3 separate regions of the Homo sapiens genome follow, and regions 2 and 3 are each linked to region 1. The links are contacts of gene promoters, found by promoter capture Hi-C in blood cells and fetal thymus (Javierre and others, 2016). All regions are on one chromosome and are shown on one strand. Each heading gives the region's core, a stretch centred on a gene start or on the middle of the fragment in contact. The rest is flanking DNA. Distances are from core to core; before and after follow the strand shown.

Region 1 (3,685 bases), core at 699-3,198:
TAATCTCATCTCCAAACAGCATTTGGTCTTTTTTAAGTGGGCTTTCTAGCAACGCAAGAACCTCTAGCATTCAAGGAAAATGTGATTATGAGCAAATTGCATCTGCTTACATTTTTATCATGAAAAGGAAATTGAAACTTGCGATCATACATTCTAAGAACCTGGTTTGAGGTTTGTTCTGTTTTAACTTCGAAATCCTTTAATACCATGGCTAACTCTGATGAAATATTTTTTCCTGTAAGTCAAACAAAGATAGGCAAACCTTCGAGAAGCCTGTACCAAACCAAAGCTCTTATCCTACTCTCCTCAGGAATCATCACTGAAAAATTTCTATAGTTCAGCAGTCTCCGCTAGGAGCAATTGTGCCCTCCAGGGACCTTGGGCAATATCCCAAACCTTTTTTTTGTTGCCACAACTTGGTGGTGGTGGTGGTGGTGGGGGGTGGGGTGGGGTCAAGGTTGCTACTAGTATCTAGTGAGTAGAGGCCACAGGTGCTGCTAAACATCCTACAATGCACAGGGCAGCCCATCACCCCAACAAATAATTATCCAGCCCAGCCCGAAAGGTCAATAATGCTGCGGTGGAAAAACCATATTCTAGTGGACACCTAAGTAGAAAGCAAGACATCACAGTTAGAGAACCAGAAAACCTCTTCCGTTGCCGGAAGGCTGCCCTAGTGCCCTGGTGAAGAACAGACTTTGGGCCAGAATACCTAGGTTTGCACCCTGGCTCCATCTCTTACTGGCTATGCTTCCTCAGGCAAATTACTTTACCTCTCTGTGCCTCGTTTTTCTCTTCTACAACACGGAGATGATGATAATAGTACCTTACACACAGAGCCATTATGGCTTTGGGTAGGTTAATAGTCCTGAAGTGCTTAGAACAGTGCCAGGTCGACAGTCACCATGTAAGCGTGCATTTACTAAGCGTCTTTGCCGATCTCTGGAAAAAATATTTCAGGTCTCAGCTAAGCTTAAGGGCAGTAGGGAACGGCTTCAGAGTCTGCATTGCCATAGCAAGAATGAGAATGGTTGTCATCTGACAACCGTGTCCTTTCTTTCCAGTTCATCAACCCTAATCAGAGAGCAGTGAGGAGAGCAGCCCGGCTGGCTCAGCTCAAGAACAGTAAATGCTTTATCGTCCTCGGTTTCTTTCCCTCCTTCCCCAGCAAAACTAGCGACTGACAAGCACTTGGTGTCCTGTGAATAGAGTGGAAAACACAAAACCGCACAGACACAGAACCCACCCACCGACACGCATACCAACCCTCACACACCTGCCCCTACAGCAGGTCTGCAGACCATCAAGCCCGCACGCACCCACGGGTCTGCGTGCAGAGCCTCCCTCCTCCTGCAACCCTCCGGACGCAGCCAGGTGGGGCACAGCTGATGCAAAAGGAGCTAACTAGGTGCAAAGCCCCGCCACAGGAGAGCAGGGAGGAAAGCCCGTGGGCGCTCCCGGCCTGGTATCCAGGTTAAATCCCGTCGCAGCGCGCACAGGCACACGTGCACACTCACACCCATACACGCGGGGGTGCCTGCAAAGACATGGGGCCCCAAAGCGGGACCTCAGGCCGGGGGTGGGGGGAAGCCAATCGCCAGTCAGACACTCACCTGGCCGCGTTCCCGAAACCACCTGCCACCCAGGAGAGCAGCAGCGGGAGCGCAAGGCTCCAGGGCAGAGGCATTCTCGCACGGGTCCTCCTTCCTCCTCCTGAGCCCCCCTCGGGAGGGCGCCGGCCGGACCCCGTAGCAGCTAAGCCGCCGCCTCCTCTCTCCTCAGCCGCTCGGGTCCTCCGCTCCACTCGCAGTTACCGGGTGCTGTCCCTGCAGTCTGGGAGGGGAGGCCAGGCACCGCGGCAGGGGCGCTCGCGGCCTGGGGAGGGGCTGGGGGCGCCCTGGCAAGCCTGGCCGAGGCTCCTCTGCGGATGAAGCTGGACGGGGTGAGCGAGGGAGGGCGGGGCGGGCTGTGCACATCTGGCTGGGACCCGCCTCCAGCATGACCCGCGCATCCTCCGCGCTCTCTGTTCACCCAGAAACTTCCCCCAGATTCAGGTCACTTCACGCTTGTCAGAGTCACCATCTACTACCATGTATTTCAGGCATGGGGCAAATTTCGGTGATACCTGCACTCCAGGACTTAAGAATTTAGTTGAGAAGTCGAAGCAGGATGGAAGGATGCAGGTTCCTAAGACATGATCCCTCACTTCTCTTTGGGTTTTCACGTTCTCCCGGTTTTCTTCTACAAACTGCAAATAATGGGATGCTAGAGCTGGAAGGTCACTAAGTCCTGGGCAACCCTGTCATTTGGCAAGTAATCTCTCAGGCCCATTTGCAACAGCTTACTTACATGGGACCCCAGATGACATCCCAATATAGTAACCAGTGCAGAAATTCATGGCAGAAACATGAATGCTATATGAATTCAGATCCATTTGGGTACTGACACATTCTTTGTTCTGACAACGTGTTACATTAGAATGAATGACTGATCCCTTTCTGTCCTTCCTACGTCCACACCCTTTGGCTTCATGGTAGGCAGACACTATGACCCCACACCTTGGCTTTGGACTTGGCCGTGTGACTTGTTTGATCAATGGTTTAAGGGCAGAAAAGTTGCAGTGTTCCAGTTCCAAGCCTAGGTCTTAACACACCTGACCCTCTATCATGGACATGAGAAGACCTTGCACCACCTAGCCTGGTGGTCCAAGGCGAATGAGAAACAGGTGAAAAAGCTACCTCGTCAACCTGCAGATCTATAGCTTGAAGCAGAGCTACTCGGTGGAGCCTCATGTATATTACCCAATCCACACGTATATGAATGAGCTCAGCTAAGGTTGCCCGGCACCAGCCAATCTACTGAGGCTTATTGTGATAGTCCTCTGACACACAGTGGCCCAGTGTGAGAAATGAAATGAAAAAGGATACAGAGAAAGAGGAGGTTTATCTTGATTGGAAGCTTGATTCATGGTTTTATAGGCATATGCCTTAATTCTGGCCAATGAAATGTGAGAAGTAGGGAGGGGGGAGATTCTTGCTGCAGAATCTTGCTTTACATTGTAATAGATGTTCTTATTGGTGCAAGCCATGTTTAGTTGGGACTTCTATTTTACAGTTGAAGGTATCCCCATGGATTCAGTATTCTTGGGTAACTAGTTAGACCATTGAGCTGCTCGTAATTAATAGTGTCAGACCTTGTCCTAAACACATATGTTATCTGATTGAACATCCACAAGCCTGTGGATGGAGACCATTAGTTCCCCCATGTTTGAAGTGTCAAGAAACTGAGTCGGAGAGGTTAAGCAGCTTGCCCGACCAAGGTCATACAGCTAACAAGTATAGAACCAGAACTGGAAACCAGGGCTTTTCCCCATTGGGCTCTGCTGCTGTTATATCAATCTCTTTTCTCATCTTCTCACGTATTGGCAGATTCACATGTCAGATGAGTATCATGAATAAGGTAATAAGATGAGCTCTTCAAGGTTGTCATCAAAACACTTTGAACTCTTCATACCATAACTTATTTTATTTACTGAAATATTAAAACTAAAAGAAAATAATATAAGTTATGAACTCTATACCTGTGAGGATCTTAAAGAAAATGGAATATAAAATTTGTCTTGTTGTGGGTTTCCCCACAAGCAGGCCCTGAGGCAAGGATTCAAGTAAAAGTAGTTTATTCTGGA
Region 2 (3,685 bases), core at 779-3,278, 480 kb before region 1:
GAAGCTATAGTCAAAGCCCTATAATTCTAGGAATTTTTCTATCCTACTCTCACGAATAGGTTCATTCTTATGTACAAGAATGATCTTCAGGTACTGGCTTGACAACAAAACATAGGCTAGAATAAATAAGAAACACGCAAAAAAAAAAGGTGCAAATAACGTATTTTTGCCAAAGGTAGAATGTACTGAATAGGCAATTCATGGTACTTGAAAAGCAGAAGTAATGACAACAAATGGAAATACAGGCCACTGGCAGAAGAAACAAGGACAAATGATTGGGTAAACAAGACCCCCAAATTGGTTAAAATTTATAAAAGTGGGGCTCATAAGTGTAGAGCAATAAGCCCATGTGAGTTATAAGAGAGAGAAAAAAAACTGAGACATGATTATGGATAAAGATGAAAGACGAGCCTAGATATTATAAACAGCAGGCTAATATAAGTGCTGTACTGCTGCATGTCAGTTCACTGTTCCTAGAGGTGATACCCATATGCCATACAGAGAAGGGGAAGAAGGAAAGACCTCATATGTCCCAAGAATTTTCTGGGGCCCGTCTGGGTTTACAGTGTAAAATGATATAGCTCCAATAGGGTCTAGAAGAAGATTCCCTTCCTAAGAAGGAAAAAAATATGGCATTTGGGGAATGCTCACTGTGAATCAGGAGCGTCACATGTTACTTTACTTAATCTTCAAAAAAAAAAAAAGGAAGAGTATTACAATAGACCCTTGAACAACATGGATTTGAACTGCAAGGGTCCACTTATTTGTGGATCTTCTTCTGTCTCTGCCACCCCTGAGACAGCAAGACCAACCCCTCCTCTCCCTCTTCCTCCTCAGCTTACTCAATGTGAAGACAAGGATGAAGACCTTTGTGATGATCCACTTCCACTTAATGAATAGTAAAAATATTTTCTCTTCCTTATGATTTTTAACAGTTTTCTTTTCTCTAGTTTACTTTATTGTAAGAATACAGTATGTAATATGTATAACATACAAAATATATGTTAATCAACAGTTCATGTTATCAGTGAGGCTTCCAATCAACAGTAGGCTATTAGTAGTTAAGTTTTGGGGGAGGCAAAAGTTATACATGAAATTTTGACTGCAGGTGGGGGTTGGTGCCCTAACCCTCATGTTGTTCAAGGATCAGCCATATATTCATTTTAAAACCATAAAACTAAAGCTTTATTAAGCTCTTACTATGTATAAGCCCTTCACAAGCATTATCTCATTTTATCTTCACAACGATCCTTCAAGTAGGTATTACTGTCTCCAGTTTACATACAAGTATTAGCTGTACTGACCCTTGCTTTTGAGATTTATATGAGTTTGAAGTGAACCCCCATTTTATGAAAAACAAATGTTAGCTACAACTTTCTTAAGGGCTTACTTTATCATGGTTTCCTCTGCCTCTTAGCTCCTGCTTTACTGAATTTGTTTAGCTTATTAACTGTCTAATCACTCCATGTTTTCCCTTTTCCATTCCATTGTAGTCTAAACATTAGGCTTATTCCCTTTACTTAATACACACACACACACACACACACACACACACACACACACACACACCCAACCAAGACATTTATGTTTACAGCAAACTTGACCCAAGGTTTGGAAAAACAGCATGGGTTCACAACAGTAATACAAGTAACTGAAAACTAATATTAGCTCTCCCTATTCCTAAGAGTCCTTTTGCCACCCCCAACATTCCATGTAGCCCCCAAACTTTCTTACTGGCTCTTCTTTCCCTTTATTCCCTTACTCCTCCTCACTCAGAGCCAACAACAAATGAATAATTTCTCCCATATAATTTCTTATAGAAAATGACTTGGTCCTTCTTGAGTTCTGCATTTCTTCTCCAGACCCTTCTCTGAAGGCTTGGTTTTGATGGCCAAATTACCTATTGAGATATTTTTTCAAACAAGGACAGTTCCATCTCTAACAGGAATTCTGGTGCCAGCACACAAGAAATACAGATGAGGGAACCAAGGCTTGGAGGTGTCTAGAAACTAACCCTGTAAGGTTTGTTCTTGAGAGCTGCTTGTTCAATATAGAAGCCACCAGCCTCATGTGACCACTCAAATTTAAATTGTACTTAATTAAAATTGAATAAAATTAAAATTTCAGTTATTCATTCTCATTACCTCATTTCAAGTGCTCGAGTGCTCTTGTGTCTAGTGGCCATTGTACTGGACAGTGCAGATGTAGAGCAGTTCTACCAACCTGGAAAGTTCTATTGGACAGTGACACTTCCACAGTAGCCGTGTGGTTCCCAGACGCTGCTATCTCTTGTCCATGTGCCACTGCTGAAGATGGTGACATATCCCTCTCCTTCTTTTTATGTTGGACTGCCATCTGCTGTGCCATTTCTAAATGAAAAGAAATACACTGTCCAATTACAAGTATGGAGTCTATGAACAAGTCAGCCGATAATCTCTGCTGTCTGTGTGAAGGCCGCCTCTTAGGCTGCACAGTGTCCTGCCTTCAGATGAAGAAGTCCTCAGACCATACTCTGCCAAGGTTTCTACCTGCCCTGGAGGCCCATTGAGACTGCTTATCCTCCAGAAACAAAGGCCTTATTTCATAATCAAGGCACAGACCAATTTATGAACCTGAAGAAGCAGCAAGTCTTTTAAAGAGTGTTGGTGTTTCCCATTCACCCACCACACTCCCCAATCCTGGCTAACCTTTCAATGATAAAGTCCGACTGTCTCAAAGAAAAAGTGCTGTTAATGGTGTTACCTTGGTGATGATGCCCCAGTCCACTCCCTCTGTAACAGTTCTCACTGAATCCTTTCTTCTGATCTTTGAATTGTACTGAATTCTCTGATTCAGTTATTCAAACTGCCACCATTTCTTCATTTTAAGCTTTGATAGCAAGAGAGATGATTCATCAGGATTGAATGCCTTTAAGCCAATGGTCTCAGTGTGGCTGTACATTGCTGTCCCCTGGGAAGGTGGGAAAAATCCAGATGCTTAGGCACACTGAAAACCAATGACATGGGAATGTATAGGGTTGGGATCCAGGCAACAGCATTTTTAACACACACCAGATGATTCTGATGTGCAGCAGTAAGACAGGCACCACTGACTTAAGTGGAATGACTGTACTATAGAGATTCTCAAACCTCTGTAAGCAGTGACTAAGAAAGCTTTGCAAAAATACAGACTCCCAGGCTCCTCACCCACCAACTGAGTCACAGTCTTAGGACTTGGGATCGAGCTATTTGCATTTTTCTAAAGACCCACAAGAGATTCTAAAGGGAAGACAGATTTGTAAATACGTGCCTAGGTGCAGTTGCAGCCCTGCAGATATCAGGGCAAAACTGCAAGGCGAGAGAATTCTGCCTCTCTCTCTCTCCTGCACCTCCTCTCCAGCACGGTGCAAAAGCCCGCAGAGCCCTTTCCCACCTCCAGGTTTGGGTTTCATCTCTGCTTTCTAAAAAGGGAAACAAAAATAAAGCTAGAGTCTAGAAAATCTTCAGTTTGAAAGTTCCTAAGCAACGGATCCTTTTCTGTTTATAACTTTCCTGCTTCAGGATCAGCCTTTCTCTCTAGCACCCTGCCAATTTTGTAATTGAGTTCATCATGCCATAATCTTGCCTTATATGCAGTAGGTGCTCAATAAATGTTTGAATGTGAATTATAAATGTGTAGAAGTAGTCCTGTATTCATAATTTGACAT
Region 3 (3,685 bases), core at 670-3,169, 460 kb before region 1:
ACAGGTGGAGCTGCCATACTCTGGACTCCTTACACCCAGACTGCCATGAGATAGAAATACACTTCTCAACAGTTTGAGCCACTCCTCTTCTGGGTCTCTGTGACAGCAGCCAACTAATATTCTATCTAATGCCATAGTATACCATATATATTGTATTTTTTCATTCATAGAACCAGGAATCACTCTACCTGAACTATATCCACTCTAGGCCTGCATCCTTCTGCCTTTCCCAGGAACCCCCTAAGCTCTTTCTCCCTATCTTACCCCTCTCCATCTTTCTTTCCTGCCTCTCTAGATGCTGGCTTCTTCCTTGAGGTAGAGATTGCACCAGGCCCCATCTGACTTATCTGTCTCAATCCACACCTGACTTTTCCCATAAGACTTCACCCTCCTACCATCTCCTGCTTCTATCCATAGATATCTCATTTCCTCCCACATCCATTTTCTGAGGTGGAGGAATAATCTTTTCTAAAATAATCCCCCTCTATATACACATACTTTCTGGCCCTTACCCTGCTATACTGTCTTCATATAACTCACCACAACATACAATTCTATTTATCTGCTTATTGTCTATGTTCTACACAAAAGATTTAATTTTATGAGCCCCAAAACTGTATTGTTTACTACTGTGTATCCGGTAAATAGAATACCACGGTACAATAGAAATGCAATGCATGCCACATATATAATTTTAAATGTTCTAGTAGCCACACTAATAAAGTAAAAAGATAAAGATCAAATTTTAGTCTTTAACCTCAATAGTCCTTCTCTAAGATGTTATCACTATAAAGAAATTGAGGTATTTTACATTCTTTTTCTCATTCTTCTTCAAAATCTAGAGTGTAATTTACCCTTACAGTGTATCTCAGTTCAGACTACTACAATTCAGGTTCTCAGGGCCACATGTAGTGGTTACAATGGACAGCGCTAACATAGAATACTTGGCACATAGCCGGCATCCAGTAAATATTTGTTAAAGTTAATATTCTTCTATACCATTTTAATTCTTCTGTAGTCCAGGAATAATACAGTAATGTCACGTCATTAATACCACCCAATTGACTTAGCCATTTCCTTGTTGGGCATTTAGGTCTTTTCCAATTTTCACTTTTTAAAATAATTCTGTAATAAACATCTATCTGGTTCGTACCTGTTTTTCCTTGGAATAAATTCCCAGAAAGTATTAAATATGGTAATTGCCCCAGAAATGATATGTCACGTAAGACTTCTAATTGTTTATGCTTGGTTCTTGTTAATGACTCTTGTAATGTTAACAGGGCAGGTATTGCTGTGATGGTTATAATTACAAACATATTAGTACTAATGTTTTGTCTGCTGCAATGCATCAGGCACTCTGCATTAGGTTATGCATATCTTATAGATGAGACACACGAGGCTTGGGGAAGTTACAAACTTAGCACTGGACTCGCACTCAAACTGAGATCTGGGTTAATCTATTTTCAAAGACTGGGTGTTTTACGCTGGGACAAATTAAGAAACTAAAACTGTTTTAGTTAAGAAAGAAAACAGAAAGGAAGAAAGAAAAGGCTAAGTAAAGACAAGGGAAGGAAAACGAAGAAAGCTGAGGAAAGGACAAAAAGTTAAAGGCTGGAAACCCGGGCGGTGCAGAAGCGACCCTTATCTCGCCGGTGCAGAAGCACCGTCCGACCCCCGGCGCGGGTGCCCGCCACAGTCCCAGTGCCCCGCCCGGTGCAGCTCCCTCTCCGCCGGCCCCGCCACCCGCAGCCATCCCACGCCTGCCGCCCCGGCGCTCCACTCGGGGTAGCCGATTAGCAGGCAGCTTCCGGCCTCCAGCACTGCACCGCCTGCGGTGCGAACGTGACGTCCGCGACACAGGGGGGGACTTCCGGCGCGCCGCGCCACGCCACGTGTTCCGCACCGGAAGCGCGCTTCCAGTCGCCCCGGCAACAGCCGCCTCCCTCGCGTCCCCCACTCCCCCTCTGTCTCTCCAAGGAAAACTAGGCCCCTGCGCGGCCAACGCCCAGGATCCGCAAGCTGCGCGCCCACGAGGTGACTTCGGGGACGGCTGGGTTTCCTTTGGGGAGTGAGGGAGGAGCTTAGACGCCCCGGGCCCTGGCTTCTTCTGATGCGCAGAGAGCCGAGGTCTTGGACGTCACGTTGCTCTCATAATTATCTTAATCCCGCGACAAAAGGTGGGGCCGGAGGCCCATGAGATTCCTAAATCATTGCAGGTTAATTGTGAGAGGGGACCAGTCCCAGAGGCTCTCAGCTCTGCAGTGCTTCCGAATCACTGGACGACTCTTTAAGAATTCTGATCCCCGGGCCCCCATCCCGGACCAATGAAATCAGAATCTCTAATAGTGGGGCCCTGGCATCGGTAGTTTTTAAAGCTGCCCAGGTGATTCTGGGGTGCCGAGAACCACCGTGTTAAGGTCTGTAGGTGAATTCGGATTTTGCCCATCCAGTCCAGTATCTGAATAGAAGATCGCCCAGGACAGCCACATACTTGAAGGATGTCTAGGATATTGCCCTCTCTGCTCAAAAATTCGGGTTTCTTTCTTTTCTCTTGCACTTTAACCTCTGCAGGAGGTCAGCTTTTGGTGGGAGTTATCTTGAGACATCTGGCGCCTACAGTTTATGGGCCTTGTGTCTCTGCCCACTTATCAGTAATGAGCTGTAATTGAACCAGTGGCCAACGAAGTGCATTTTAGCTCTGAAATCTTGATGTTCCCTTAGTACAGATCAGATGGTTCTGAACAATTTTATTTTTTTCAGGAATGATGTTTTTAAACTCGTTTGACAGGCTAGGCTGTGTATTCAGCTGTTCTTCATCTCAAATCAGAACAATATTACTTAAAAAATCTAGACTAAAGATTAGTAACGCAACACTTCTAGGATTATTTATGCTCACAGCCCCCATGAATTGTAGGATGAGAGCTACCCTTTAAAAATACTATTTTTGCTAGCATAATTTATCGGAATAACAGTCTCTTTGTAATTTCAATGTGAACAGAAACCATATATTTTTAAAGACTGCTGGTTAGTAACTTGGAATAAGCATAACTGAAAGCAAGTTCACAGGTGTATAAATCCCCTCTGTGTGTTCATTGCTGTGCTGGGGAAGTATACAAACTAAAGTTCCAGAGAGAAATGTTCATTCTGAAACTGTTCTATAGATGGTGATTAATCATTTTGGGTTTTTTTTTAAAGGATAGGGTGAGATGAGAATGACGGGGGAAAGTTTTGAACAGTTAAGGCTAGAGTGTAAATTGGAGAGTTTGCAAAGTAGGTACAGAACTTTTTTTGAACAACTTCTCTACAAGAGGAAATTCAGCCACGGAACAGCTGGACAAGTGAAAAAAGAATGTAGTTGATCAAATATCAGATGAATTGAAAAGATCTTTGAAAACATAATGTATTTAAATATTTGCTTCCTGAAAAGATTTGGTGCTTTATAGTCAGTTTTTTGAGTTACTAGGTCCTCAGAGATTTTGGGGAGTAGATGCAGGAGGAGAGAACGTTATCAGGAAACAACAGACAAGCTCAACAATTTCAGCAGCATCTAAGAGCATGAAATATTAGCTATTATTTTTATGCTGGAAGGAAAATAGGAAACTTAAAAGGAGTAGATTGTAGAATCCATGCCTACAGGTAACTGAGTAAGTGCCCAAGTAAATGAGGCATAGTGAGTGCCTATAAA

Evidence for each region. The method cuts DNA at HindIII sites, captures the fragments that hold promoters and counts their contacts. A CHiCAGO score of 5 or more calls a contact.
Region 2: a contact is called between a fragment that was not itself captured here and the fragment with the promoter of EGFL6 in region 1, in 1 of 17 cell types (activated CD4 T cells). The highest score is 5.9, in activated CD4 T cells.
Region 3: the fragment with the promoter of GEMIN8 here is called in contact with the fragment with the promoter of EGFL6 in region 1 in 7 of 17 cell types (neutrophils, total CD4 T cells, M0 macrophages and 4 more); the score reaches 11.4 in neutrophils.

The regions. Positions count from the first base shown.
Region 1 is chrX:13,567,864-13,571,548 of GRCh38, reverse strand. It overlaps EGFL6 (EGF like domain multiple 6), which reads right to left and starts at 1,948. Exons shown (of 12, transcript NM_015507.4): 1 at 1,614-1,948. The coding sequence starts at 1,687. The HindIII fragment of the contact is 1,986 bases long and covers 975-2,960 here.
Region 2 is chrX:14,050,274-14,053,958 of GRCh38, reverse strand. No RefSeq gene overlaps it. Among named protein-coding and RNA genes, the nearest start is that of GEMIN8, 22 kb to the right of the region's middle. The HindIII fragment of the contact is 1,685 bases long and covers 1,186-2,870 here.
Region 3 is chrX:14,028,126-14,031,810 of GRCh38, reverse strand. GEMIN8 (gem nuclear organelle associated protein 8) reads left to right here and starts at 1,919. Exons shown (of 5, transcript NM_001042479.2): 1 at 1,919-2,034. RefSeq lists silencers at 1,579-1,718, 1,753-1,952 and enhancers at 1,329-1,829, 1,830-2,330. The HindIII fragment of the contact is 15,884 bases long and covers 1-3,685 here.